Linked DNA regions of Homo sapiens: region 2 is linked to region 1. Evidence: promoter capture Hi-C in 16 types of primary human blood cells and fetal thymus (Javierre and others, 2016). All regions are on one chromosome and are shown on one strand. Each heading gives the region's core, a stretch centred on a gene start or on the middle of the fragment in contact. The rest is flanking DNA. Distances are from core to core; before and after follow the strand shown. Region 1 holds the start of HAPLN4 (hyaluronan and proteoglycan link protein 4). Region 2 overlaps RFXANK (regulatory factor X associated ankyrin containing protein).

Region 1 (5,390 bases), core at 1,198-3,697:
CATGATGATACCCCATCTCTACTAAAAATACAAAAAATTAACTGGGCATAGAGGTGCACGCCTGTAGTCCCAGCTACTCAGAGGAGGCTGAAGCACGAGAATCACTTGAACCCAGGAGGCAGCGGAGGTTGCAGTGAACCGAGATTGCACCACTGCACTCCAGCATGGGCAACAGAATGAGACTGTGTCTCAAAAAAAAAAAAAAAAAAAAACAGATAGATGGACTGGAGATGGGAAACAGATAGATGAGCAAAGCCCGAGAGGTGGGGATGGGCATCCCCTGGGTTCTGCCTGACCTACCTGGGGGGCTGTCGGTGATGCTGGGATTTCAGTTCCTTCCTGGCCCCTGACATCCATCTTCCCTGTCTGGCTACCAGGCACAGTTCTCGCACATGGGGGCTTCCATGCACCTGCGCACACCCTTCACCTACCGTGTGCCTGAGGACACCTGGGGCTGCTTCTTCGTGTGCAATCTGCTGTATGCGCTGGGCCCCCACCTGCTGGCCTACCGTTGCCTTCAGTGGCCCGCATTCTTCCACCAGCCACCACCCTCCGACCCCCTAGCCCTCCACAAGAAGCAGCATTGAGAGAGCTGTGGACTCAGGACCCAGGACTCTGTTTACGTGCCCAGTCAGCCCTACCTGGGGAAGCGGGGGTTGGGTGTTTTAGAGACAGGAGGGACATCTCCGGGTGTCTTTAGTCTTGGCTATGGTAGTTTCAGTCCAGTGGGTGGGATGGAGACCAACGACCAAGTGTTCCTGCAAGGAGAGCCTCCCACAGCTGTCACCATGCTCCAACTCCCACACAAACGCTTCTACCCCTTCCAGAACTTACCCATCATCCCCCCATGGATCCTTTCAGTAAAAACCCTTTCAATTTCCAAAATATCACTGCCTAAGTGTTTCAGGGTGCAGGGGCAAGGGATCCTCTTCTTGGCCCCCATGAGGGCCCACCTATCACTGCCATCGTGGTTGCCAGGAGTGAGAGGTGCTGGGATAGCAGAAGGCGGCCTCTGGTTGGTATGCACGGCTCATCTTCCAGATGGGAAAACCGAGGCTCAGTATGGACAAGAGACCTGCCCAAGGTCATGGCCAGAGAGAAAAGTTCCTGCTCTACCAATAAATCATAACTAATAGCATGATACATTTATTAAGCACCTACTGTATACCTTGACTGCTACATGCTGGATCTCACTCCATATTCCAGATGGGGAAACCAAGGCTGCAGGAGGTGAAGGTCCTGGTCTGAGATCATTCCCCCGCTCAGTCCCCAAGGCATGGCTGAGCTAAGAGATGGAGCCCCAGCCTGTTGGACCACAGAAACCACAACTCTGCCTCTCCTATCTGGTCGGGTTGGGCTCATTTTAGGGGAAACTGAGTCCTGGAAGGAAGCCAAGGTGTTAGGAGAAAGACTCACTGTTTGCTATTGTTTGATTTTTTGAAATTGGGTGAAAGGCCAGGTTTAGGGGCGACTTGGGCCTGGAGTAAGTCAGGGACCTTGACCAGATGTCCCTTTTCCTTTTCTTTCTTTCTTTTTCTTTTTCTTTTTTTTTTTTTTTTTTGAGACGGAGTTTTCACTCTTGTTGCCCCGGCTGATATGCAATGGCACGATCTTGGCTCACCACAACCTCCACCTCCTGGGTTCAAGCAATTCTCCTGCCTCAGCCCCCTGAGTAGCTGGGATTACAGGCATGTGCCACCACACCTGGCTAATTTTGTATTTTTAGTAGAGACAGAGTTTCTCCATGTTGGTCAGGTTGGCCTCGCACTCCTGACCTCAGGTGATCCTCCCATCTTGGCCTCACAAAGTGCTGGGATTACAGACGTGAGCCACCGCGCCCGGCCTAGATGTCCCTTTTTCTTGCCCCTCCCAACCCCTACCGGAGATCTACTGTATGTCTAGCTACTGGATCTTCACCAAAGAGTCAGCAGCAGGCTCAGAGAGGCCAACTGTCTCCTCCAAGGTCTCACAGCCAGTGAGGGGCAGACTTGAATTGGGGCCTGTGGCTCCAGTCCACAGCAGAGTGTGACTATCGTGAGGCCCCCACCCTGCACAGGGAGCGCCTTTGGGGTGCTGGAGACCAGGACTCCACTATGACTACCCAATGGACAGGTGGCCTGCAGGCCAAATGATCTCTTTCACCAGATCCCCCAGGTCCCCTGCCAAAGCACAGTAACCAAGATAGAAGACTCAGCCCCCTCCTCCATTTCAAAGATGGTTAAACTGAGGCTCAGAGAGGTTCTTCCCTGGCCTAAGTTCAGCTAGCAGGGTGAGGGAACTAGCTCTGCACTCCAAGTCCAGAGCGCTTCTTTCTCCGCCCGCGCTCCAGCCACTGCTCCAGGGGAGCGTGGGCCCCCGCGGCCCCTTTAATACACCCCGCCTCGCCCGCCTTCCTCCTCCCCTTGCAGGCAGACGCCGGGATTGCGCCGCCTGCAGGGACCTGCCCAGTCTTAACCGGGTGTGCGGGGAGCGCAGTCCGGGTGCGTAGGGGCCGCTCGGCGGGGGCCGCGCGGGCAAGATGGTAAGTGGGGCTGCGGGCGCGGGTGGTGTGTGCCCCGTCTCCCCAATCTTGGATTCTATATCTCTCTGCCTCTGAATCTATATCCCTCTGAGTTTCTTCTGTCTCTTCCTTTTCTCTGTCTCTCACCCTCTTTGATCTCTCTTTTTGGCACTCTAGGTTCTCTCCCTCTCCATTTCTCCCTGCCTCTCTCCATCTCTGTCATCCTCTCTGCCTTTTTCCTCTCCTCTCCGTTTCTGTCTTTCCCTGTCCCTATCTCTCCCTCCTCTTCTCTGAGTCTCTCTGCCTCTGGCACTCTCCTGTCTCTCCCTCTCCCTTTCTGTCTCTCCCTCTCCCTCTCTGTCGCTCCCTCTGCCTCTCTGTCTCTCCCTCTGCCTCTCTGTCTCCCTCTGCCTCTCTGTCTCTCCCTCTCCATCTGTGTCTCTCCCTCTCCATCTCTGTCTCTTCCTCTGCCTCTCTCTCTCTCCCTCTGCTTCTCTGTCTCTTCCTCTCTGTCTCTCCCTTTCCATCTCTGTCTTTCCCTCTCCATCTCTGTATCTTCCTCTGCCCCTCTGTCTCTCCCTCTGCCTCTCTGTCTCTCCCTCTCCATCTCTGTCTCTCCCTCTACATCTGTCTCTTCTTTTCCATCTGTCTCTCCCTCTCCATCTCTGCCTCTCTCTCTTCCCTTCCCCTTTTTCTGTGTCGCGCACTCTCTTCTCTGCCTCTCCCTGCCTTTCTCTCTGTCCCTGTTCTCTCCCCGCGTCTCTCCCTCTTTCTCTCCAGCTCTCCCCCCTCCCTGCCCGCCCCGGCCCGGTTTGCTGCAGTCTCCTGGCGCACGGATAACCTTGCTGCCGCCGCTCCTCCAGCTCTTCCCCACCCCCCTATCCCCGGCCCGGGCCAGGGCCAGAAGGGGGCGGGGCAGCGAGCCTCGGGTTTTGGGGTGGGGGGGAATGAGGCGGGATCTGGGGCAGGACTGAGGGCGGGGGGGAGTCTAGGGGCGTGGGTTCTTGCAGAAGCTAGGATGTGAGGTCCCAAGAGGAGGAGGGGGAGTTCTCCAGGACCCCGGAAAGGGTGGGGACATGGGCGTGAGAGAGGTCCTCGCTGTGGGGAAGGCAGGCCCGGGAGGGAGCCAGGCCTCCGAAAAGCCAAGGCTGGGAGGCTGGACTGAGCGCCCCGTGCCCGCCCCCCAGGTGTGCGCTCGGGCGGCCCTCGGTCCCGGCGCGCTCTGGGCCGCGGCCTGGGGCGTCCTGCTGCTCACAGCCCCTGCGGGGGCGCAGCGTGGCCGGAAGAAGGTCGTGCACGTGCTGGGTGAGTCAGGGCCGCTAAAAGTGGTCTTCTCCGCGAAAAGCAGAAGTGGCCAAGTGCGGAGAGGGGTAGCGGGTAGGGCGTTCCTGACGTCCGCGGTTCCCCCAGCCACTCCCCATCTGAGCCCCTCGCCCTCTCCCTGAGCCCCTGGACCCTTCTGATTCCCCGACCCCCACCCGAGTCTTCCCACGTTCCCCTCCCCAGAGACACCTTCCCCAGAGGCCCCCTTCTGCCCCTAGGCCCCTCCTCTGAACCCTGCTTGGTTGTCCTCAGAGGGTGAGTCGGGCTCGGTAGTGGTACAGACAGCGCCTGGGCAGGTGGTAAGCCACCGTGGTGGCACCATCGTCTTGCCCTGCCGCTACCACTATGAGGCAGCCGCCCACGGTCACGACGGCGTCCGGCTCAAGTGGACAAAGGTGGTGGACCCGCTGGCCTTCACCGACGTCTTCGTGGCACTAGGCCCCCAGCACCGGGCATTCGGCAGCTACCGTGGGCGGGCTGAGCTGCAGGGCGACGGGCCTGGGGATGCCTCCCTGGTCCTCCGCAACGTCACGCTGCAAGACTACGGGCGCTATGAGTGCGAAGTCACCAATGAGCTGGAAGATGACGCTGGCATGGTCAAGCTGGACCTGGAAGGTGATCAGCCGGTGGGGAGGATAAACCTTGCTTCTGAGGAAGGAGGGGGGCGGGGATGGCAAGGGACATAAACCAAATCAAGTTGGCCTGCAGGCATTTAGAAGGTTGGTTGGGGTAGAGCCCCCATATCTGGTTCTGGGTGATTTTCCTCCCCAGGGACATTGGCGATGTCTGGAGATATTTTACGTTGTCACATCTGGAGAAGGCAGTTGCTACTAGCCCCTAGTGGGTAGAGGCCAGGGATGCAGCTATACATCCTACCAGGCACAGGATAGTCCCCCACAAGGAGTGATCCAGGCCGGGCATGGTGGCTCACGACTGTAATCCCAGCACTTTGGGAGGTTGAGGCAGGCGGATCACCTGAGGTCAGGAGTTCAAGACCAGCCTGGCCAACATGCCAAAACCCCATCTCTAGTAAAAATACAAAAATTAGCCAGGCATGGTGGTGCATTCCTGTAATTCTAGCTACTTGGGAGGCTGAGGCAGGAAAATCTCTTGAACCCGGGAGGTGGAGGTTGCGGTGAGTGGAGATCGTGCCACTGCACTCCAGCCTGGGCGACAGAGCGAGACTCCATCTCAAAAATAAATAAATAAATACATAAATAAAATAAAATAAAAGTGATCCAGTCCAAAATGTCCACAATGAGGACACTGAGAAGTCCTGGGATAGGATTCAGGCACAGTGAGATCCAGGCACTCACACCGTGTCAGGAACCATCCTTCTGCTCTGCTTCCCAGGTAGGCTTTCTTCCGACAGGCTTCTCTTTCTGGAACCAAGACCACAGTGCCTAGGCTTTCACTTCCCTGCTTAGCAACTGATTTCCTAGGAGCAGCAGCTAGAGTCCCAGAGTTGTCCCTCACTGGCTCAGCTTGAGTCATGTGCCCAACTGTGAGCCAATCACTGTAGCTGGAAGATGGGATGCTCTGATTGGCTCACCCTGGAGCTGGGAGG
Region 2 (5,124 bases), core at 314-2,813, 62 kb after region 1:
TCATCTACCACCTGCGGGTGCTTGGGGAGAAGGTGTGAGACCTCTAGGGGCTGTCTCCTCCAGGAAGCCCTCCGGGAAGCACAGCAAAGTCCCTCATTCTGCACAGAAGGTTTATTGGTTCCTCTTGGGAAGGGTCCCCTCCCACCACCTGTCCAGAAGCTGCCTTTGAAGTCAGTTCTGGGTTTCCCCAGCTCTGGCTGACCATTTTGTTCCCTGAGTGTCTGAGTCCCCGGCAGGCGGCCTTCACTCAGGGTCAGCGGGCACCAGGTTGCTCTGGAAGAGCTTGAGGATGTGGTTCTCGATCACCTGTTGCACTGAGATGGGGCAGGGAAAAGGTGGGCTGTGAGCTTGAATCGGGAGTGGGGTGGAGGCACAGGCCAACCTGCGCTCTCCCCTTAGGGGACAAACAGGGACCCTTGCAGAGACCTGCATTACAGAGCAAAGCTGGGAGAACCGAGGACTCACCCCAGGAACCTCAACTTCCCCTAAGTTTGTAAAAATGCACTTTTGTAGCTTTTCAGAATTAATATAAAAATATTTCCTACCAAGCAAAATGTGTGAATTGTGACTTTCATGAAAAGATGAGCCTGGGCATGGTGGCTCACACCTATAATCCCAGCACTTTGGGAGGTCCAGTGGGGAGGACTGCTTGAGCTCAGGAATTTGAGGCCAGCTTGGGCAACAGAGCAAAACGCTGTCTCTACCAAAAAAATTTAAAAATTAGGCTGGGCTTGGTGGCTCACACCTGTAATCCTAGCACTTTGGGAGGCCAAGGTAGGTGGATCACTTGAAGTCAGGAAAGGCCAGCCTGACCAACATGATGAAACCCCATCTCTACTAAAACTACAAAAATTAGCCAGGTGCAGCCGGGTGTGGTGGCTCATGCCTGTAATCCCAGCACTTTGGGAAGCTGAGGCGGGTGGATCACCTGAGGTCGGGAGTTTGAGATCACCTGACCAACATGGAGAAACCCTGACTCTACTAAAAATGCAAAAAATTAGTTGGGCATGGTGGTGCATGCCTGTAATCCCAGCTACTTGGGAGGCTGAGGCAGGAGAATTGCTTGAACCTGGGAGGCGGAAGTTGCAGTGAGCCGAGATCACGCCATAGCACTCCAGCCTGGGCAACAAGAGCGAAACTCCATCTCAAAAAAAAAAAAAAAAAAAAAAAAAAATTAGCCAGGTGTGGTGGCAGGCACTTGTAATCCCAGCTATTCAGGAGGCTGAGGCAGGAGAATTGTTTGCCTGGGAGGCAGAGGTTGCAGTGAGCCGAGATTGTGCCACTGCACTCCAGCCTGGGTGACAGAGCGAGACTCTGTCTCAAAAAATAAATAAAAAAGATTTTAAAAATTAGCTGGGTAGAGTGGTACATGCCTGTAGTCCCAGCTACTCAGGAGGCTGGGGAAGAAGGATCACTTGAGCCCAGGAGTTTGAGACCAGCCTGGGCAACATAGCGAGACCCTGTCTCTTCTAAAAAAACAACAACACAGCCAGGCGTGGTGGCTCACACCTGTAATCCCAGCACTTTGGGAGGCCAACACAGGCGGATCACAAGGTCAGGAGTTCAAGACCAGCCTGACCAACATGGTGAAACCCCGTCTCTACTAAAAATATAAAAATTAGCCGGGCGTCATGGTGTGCACCTGTGGTCCCAGCTACTCAGGAGGCTGAGGCAGGAGAATCGCTTGAACCTGGGAGGTGGAAGTTGCAGTGAGCCGAGATGGCGCCATTGCACTCCAGCCTGGGTGACAGCGCGAGACTCCATGTCCAAAAAAAAAAAAAAAAAAAGCAACAACAAAAAATTAGCCAGGCATGGTGACGAATGCCTGTGGTCCCAGCTACTCGGGAGGCTGTGGTGGGAGGATCACTTGAGCCTGGGAGATCGAGGCTGCAGTAAGCTGTGCCTGCACCACTTCATTCCAGCCTGGGTGATAGAGCAAGACTTTCTGCCTCGAACAAAAAAACAAACCCCCCGAAAACATGAGGAGGGAAGAGGAATGATTTCTGTCCCAAACACAGTAAAACTCTGAAGGAAGGAGGGGGATATTTCCTAAGCACCCCATCTCTACCATGACCCCAGGGGGTCGGTTCAATTGGGATCTCCCCATTTTATGGATGGGGAAGTTGGGGTCCCATTGTGACAGAGAAAATGGAGTCAAACTGGGGTCTGCCTATGGCCCCTGTTCAAACCCACTGCCCGCCACGGAGAGGGATGGCCTCTGTGGCTCTGTGCACTATGGCCTGGTCGCCTACCCCTTGGTGTCCTCACTGCCAGGCCTCCGCAGGGGCCACTCCTCCCACCTGGATGCCATTCTCCCTCCCTTCAGGTCCCCCAGAATCCTTCCCTGACCTCCCCATCCCAGGGCTGGGCCCACCTCACTTCTCGGGGTCTCAACCTTAAGACACCTTCCTCCAGGAAGCCTCTCTGACTTCTGTTGGCCACTTTGGGGCTCTTTGATGAGAGGCCCCTCTTTCGGCCTCTCATGCCTATGTGTCCCCCATCATGGCCACAGCCACTGACACCCATTGTCCTCCCTACCCCAGCACATGTGGAGCCCCAGGAGCCAGGACTGGGATGTTCCCAGGCGGGATACACAGCAGTGCTCAACACCTGTCAACACACTCTCGCTGCCGGCGTATGACCACTGAAGGGGTGTCCCATGTACCCCTTTATGGTCACCCTGCCTATGGAAGGGACCCCACCCCTGCTCTGTGTGTCTCAGGCTGACCTTTCCGGTATCCCAGGGCCACGGCAAGGTCCATCGGGGTGTAGCCAGAGTCGGCTTCGGTGGTGAGGTCAGCGCCTCGGGCTGCAAAGGAGAGGGGAGGGCGCTGGAGGGTGGGGCCTGGGAGTCCAGAATGGGGTCTGGGGACCTGGGAGATCCCATGGCACCCCTCATTCCCCACAATGCAGCCGTGGGTCTGCCCGTTGCCCATGTGGCCTTTGACAAGGGTCCAACCTCTGCTATCTTGGTCTCCACTGAAGAACGTGGCTGAAGGGTCTCTGAACCATGGAGGATGGAGGTGCTTAGCCTCTTGGCCAGATCCTAAACCCAGACCCCGACTCCCGTGTGGTCCTACCACCTCCTCCCCTCTGATCCATCCTCCGAGAAGAGCAGGCAGGGACTACCTGCTCCAAGAACTCTTCAAGCAACACTTGGGCGTCTCCCTGCCCTCAGGATTCCCGCAGGGCCCGCTGGAGTGCTGGGGCCCCCAGGGCCACTCCCGACTCCCACTCACCCAGCAAGGCCTCAACGCATTTCACGTGGTTCCCGCGCACAGCGTACAGCAGTGGCGTCCCTCCATTCTGTCGTGGGTAGGGGCAGGAGAAACCAAAGGTTTACCTCTTCCTCATTCTCAAAATGCCTTGTACTCTCTGGCCTCCAGTTGAACGTGGTTCCTCCTGCTCATCACTGGGCCCATCTCACTTTCTGGGGTCTCAAGCTTAGACACCTTCCTCCAGGAAGACCTCTCTGATTTCCCTTGCCCACATGGGGCTCTTGTAGCCACCTGTGCATCTGCCATCGCAGCGCAGTTCACTGCATCTCAGCTGCCTGTTTCCATGTCTGCCTTCCCTGCATGGGGAGCTCTGCTCTGTGAGGCTGGGAATGGGGCTGTCTCGTGTTCTCGGCACCTAGAGCAGGCCTGCACCTTTCAAGTACTCTGTGAACATTTGAGGCAGGAATGAAGGCCAGGAGGCTGAGAGGTCCTGGGGATGGGCAGTCCCTCACCCAATCATAGATGTTGATGTCCACGTCACGCTCCAGCAGCAGCCCCACAATGTCTGTGTAGCCGCCTGTGCTGGCCAGCGACAGGGCGCTCTCTCGCTCTTTTGCCAGGATGTGGGGGTCGGCACCCTGCAGGGAGAAGAAGGGACAGTGGTAGGATGGATTGGGGCATAACCAGGAATCCTGGGGTACCCACAGCAGCCGCATCTTTTTTTTTTTTTTTGGAGATAGAGTCTTGCTCTGTTGCCCAGGCTGGAGTGCAGTGGCGCAATCTCGGCTCACTGCTACCTCCGCCTCCCAGGTTCACACAGTTCTCCCACCTCAGCCTCCAGAGTACCTGGGATTACAGGCACCCACCACGACGCCTGGCTAATTTTTGTATTTTTTTAGTAGAGACAGGGTTTCACCCATGTTGGCCGGGCTGGTCTTGAACTCCTGACCTCAAGTGATCCACCCGCCTCGGCCTCCCAAAGTGCTGGGATTACAGGCATGAGCCACTGCACCCAGCCAGCAGCCGCATCTCAAAGACAAGGCGCCAGCAGACACAGCCAAAACCCCAGCCCACCCTAAGGCCCCCGGGAACCCCCCAGCTGCCCAGCTGGGCTGGGACGCACCCACTCCAGCAGGAAGCGAACGGTCTCAATCTCTCCAAAGGCGGAGGCCCAGATGAGGGGGGTGAAGCCGCGCTCGTCTGGCTTGTTGACGAGGTTGTCACCTGGCAGGAGGAGGCGGGCAATACCACCAGGCTGCACCCCTGCCCCCTATCCCCAGTGCTGCCAAATGGGGACGAGGTGGGGGGCTGGGGTTAGACAGGGGAATGAGGGGGAGCGTATGTTGATGGACATACATGAACACGGTCACACACACAGTTAGATACAATCATACACGTGGACACTCACAGGTCACGTCATGAGTGGGTATGGACACCCATATGCACACACCAGCCAGGTGCAGACATGCCAGCACATGTGTGTGGACACGCACCTTTCCGCAAATGCTCCTTCAGCTGGTCCAGCTCCCCCTGTGCTGCGAGCTGGTGGATGGACAGGGCTGGGGCAGGACAGAGGCAGAGTCCTCACTCATCCCCTTGCTTCTCTGTGCCTCAGTTTACCCTCTGTCCACGATTGCTCCTCACAGGCCCTCCCACCCTCCTACTCCTCTCCTTGTTGGGGACCGTGGGCCCACTCACAGTCTAGGGTGGCCGGCAGAGCTGACACCTCGTTCCCTCGCTGCCGGTTGGTGAGAGTGGTGGAGTGCTTCAGGGAGCTGCCTGCTGGGAAACAGACAACAGGCGTCAGTTTCCCCTCAGTAGATGTCTCTGAGGCTTCAGGACAGAAGCCCATCTGTTTTTTTTTGTTGCTGTTGTTGTTTGAGATGGAGTCTCCGTCTGTCCCCCA

Evidence for each region. Contacts are between HindIII fragments. The CHiCAGO score rates a contact against its expected background, and 5 or more counts as called.
Region 2: a contact is called between a fragment that was not itself captured here and the fragment with the promoter of HAPLN4 in region 1, in 2 of 17 cell types (M1 macrophages and M0 macrophages). The highest score is 6.6, in M1 macrophages.

Annotation. Positions count from the first base shown.
Region 1 is chr19:19,259,861-19,265,250 of GRCh38, reverse strand. HAPLN4 (hyaluronan and proteoglycan link protein 4) reads left to right here and starts at 2,447. Exons shown (of 5, transcript NM_023002.3): 1 at 2,447-2,521; 2 at 3,688-3,805; 3 at 4,076-4,438. The coding sequence starts at 2,519. It overlaps TM6SF2 (transmembrane 6 superfamily member 2), which reads left to right. Exons shown (of 10, transcript NM_001001524.3): 10 at 378-885. The coding sequence ends at 587. The HindIII fragment of the contact is 10,345 bases long and covers 1-5,390 here.
Region 2 is chr19:19,196,839-19,201,962 of GRCh38, reverse strand. It overlaps RFXANK (regulatory factor X associated ankyrin containing protein), which reads right to left. Exons shown (of 10, transcript NM_003721.4): 4 at 4,917-5,000; 5 at 4,712-4,777; 6 at 4,342-4,442; 7 at 3,731-3,856; 8 at 3,240-3,306; 9 at 2,729-2,809; 10 at 97-314. The coding sequence ends at 244. It overlaps NR2C2AP (nuclear receptor 2C2 associated protein), which reads left to right. Exons shown (of 5, transcript NM_176880.6): 5 at 1-554. The coding sequence ends at 38. Among named protein-coding and RNA genes, the nearest start is that of NR2C2AP, 4.0 kb to the left of the region's middle. The HindIII fragment of the contact is 3,765 bases long and covers 1-3,445 here.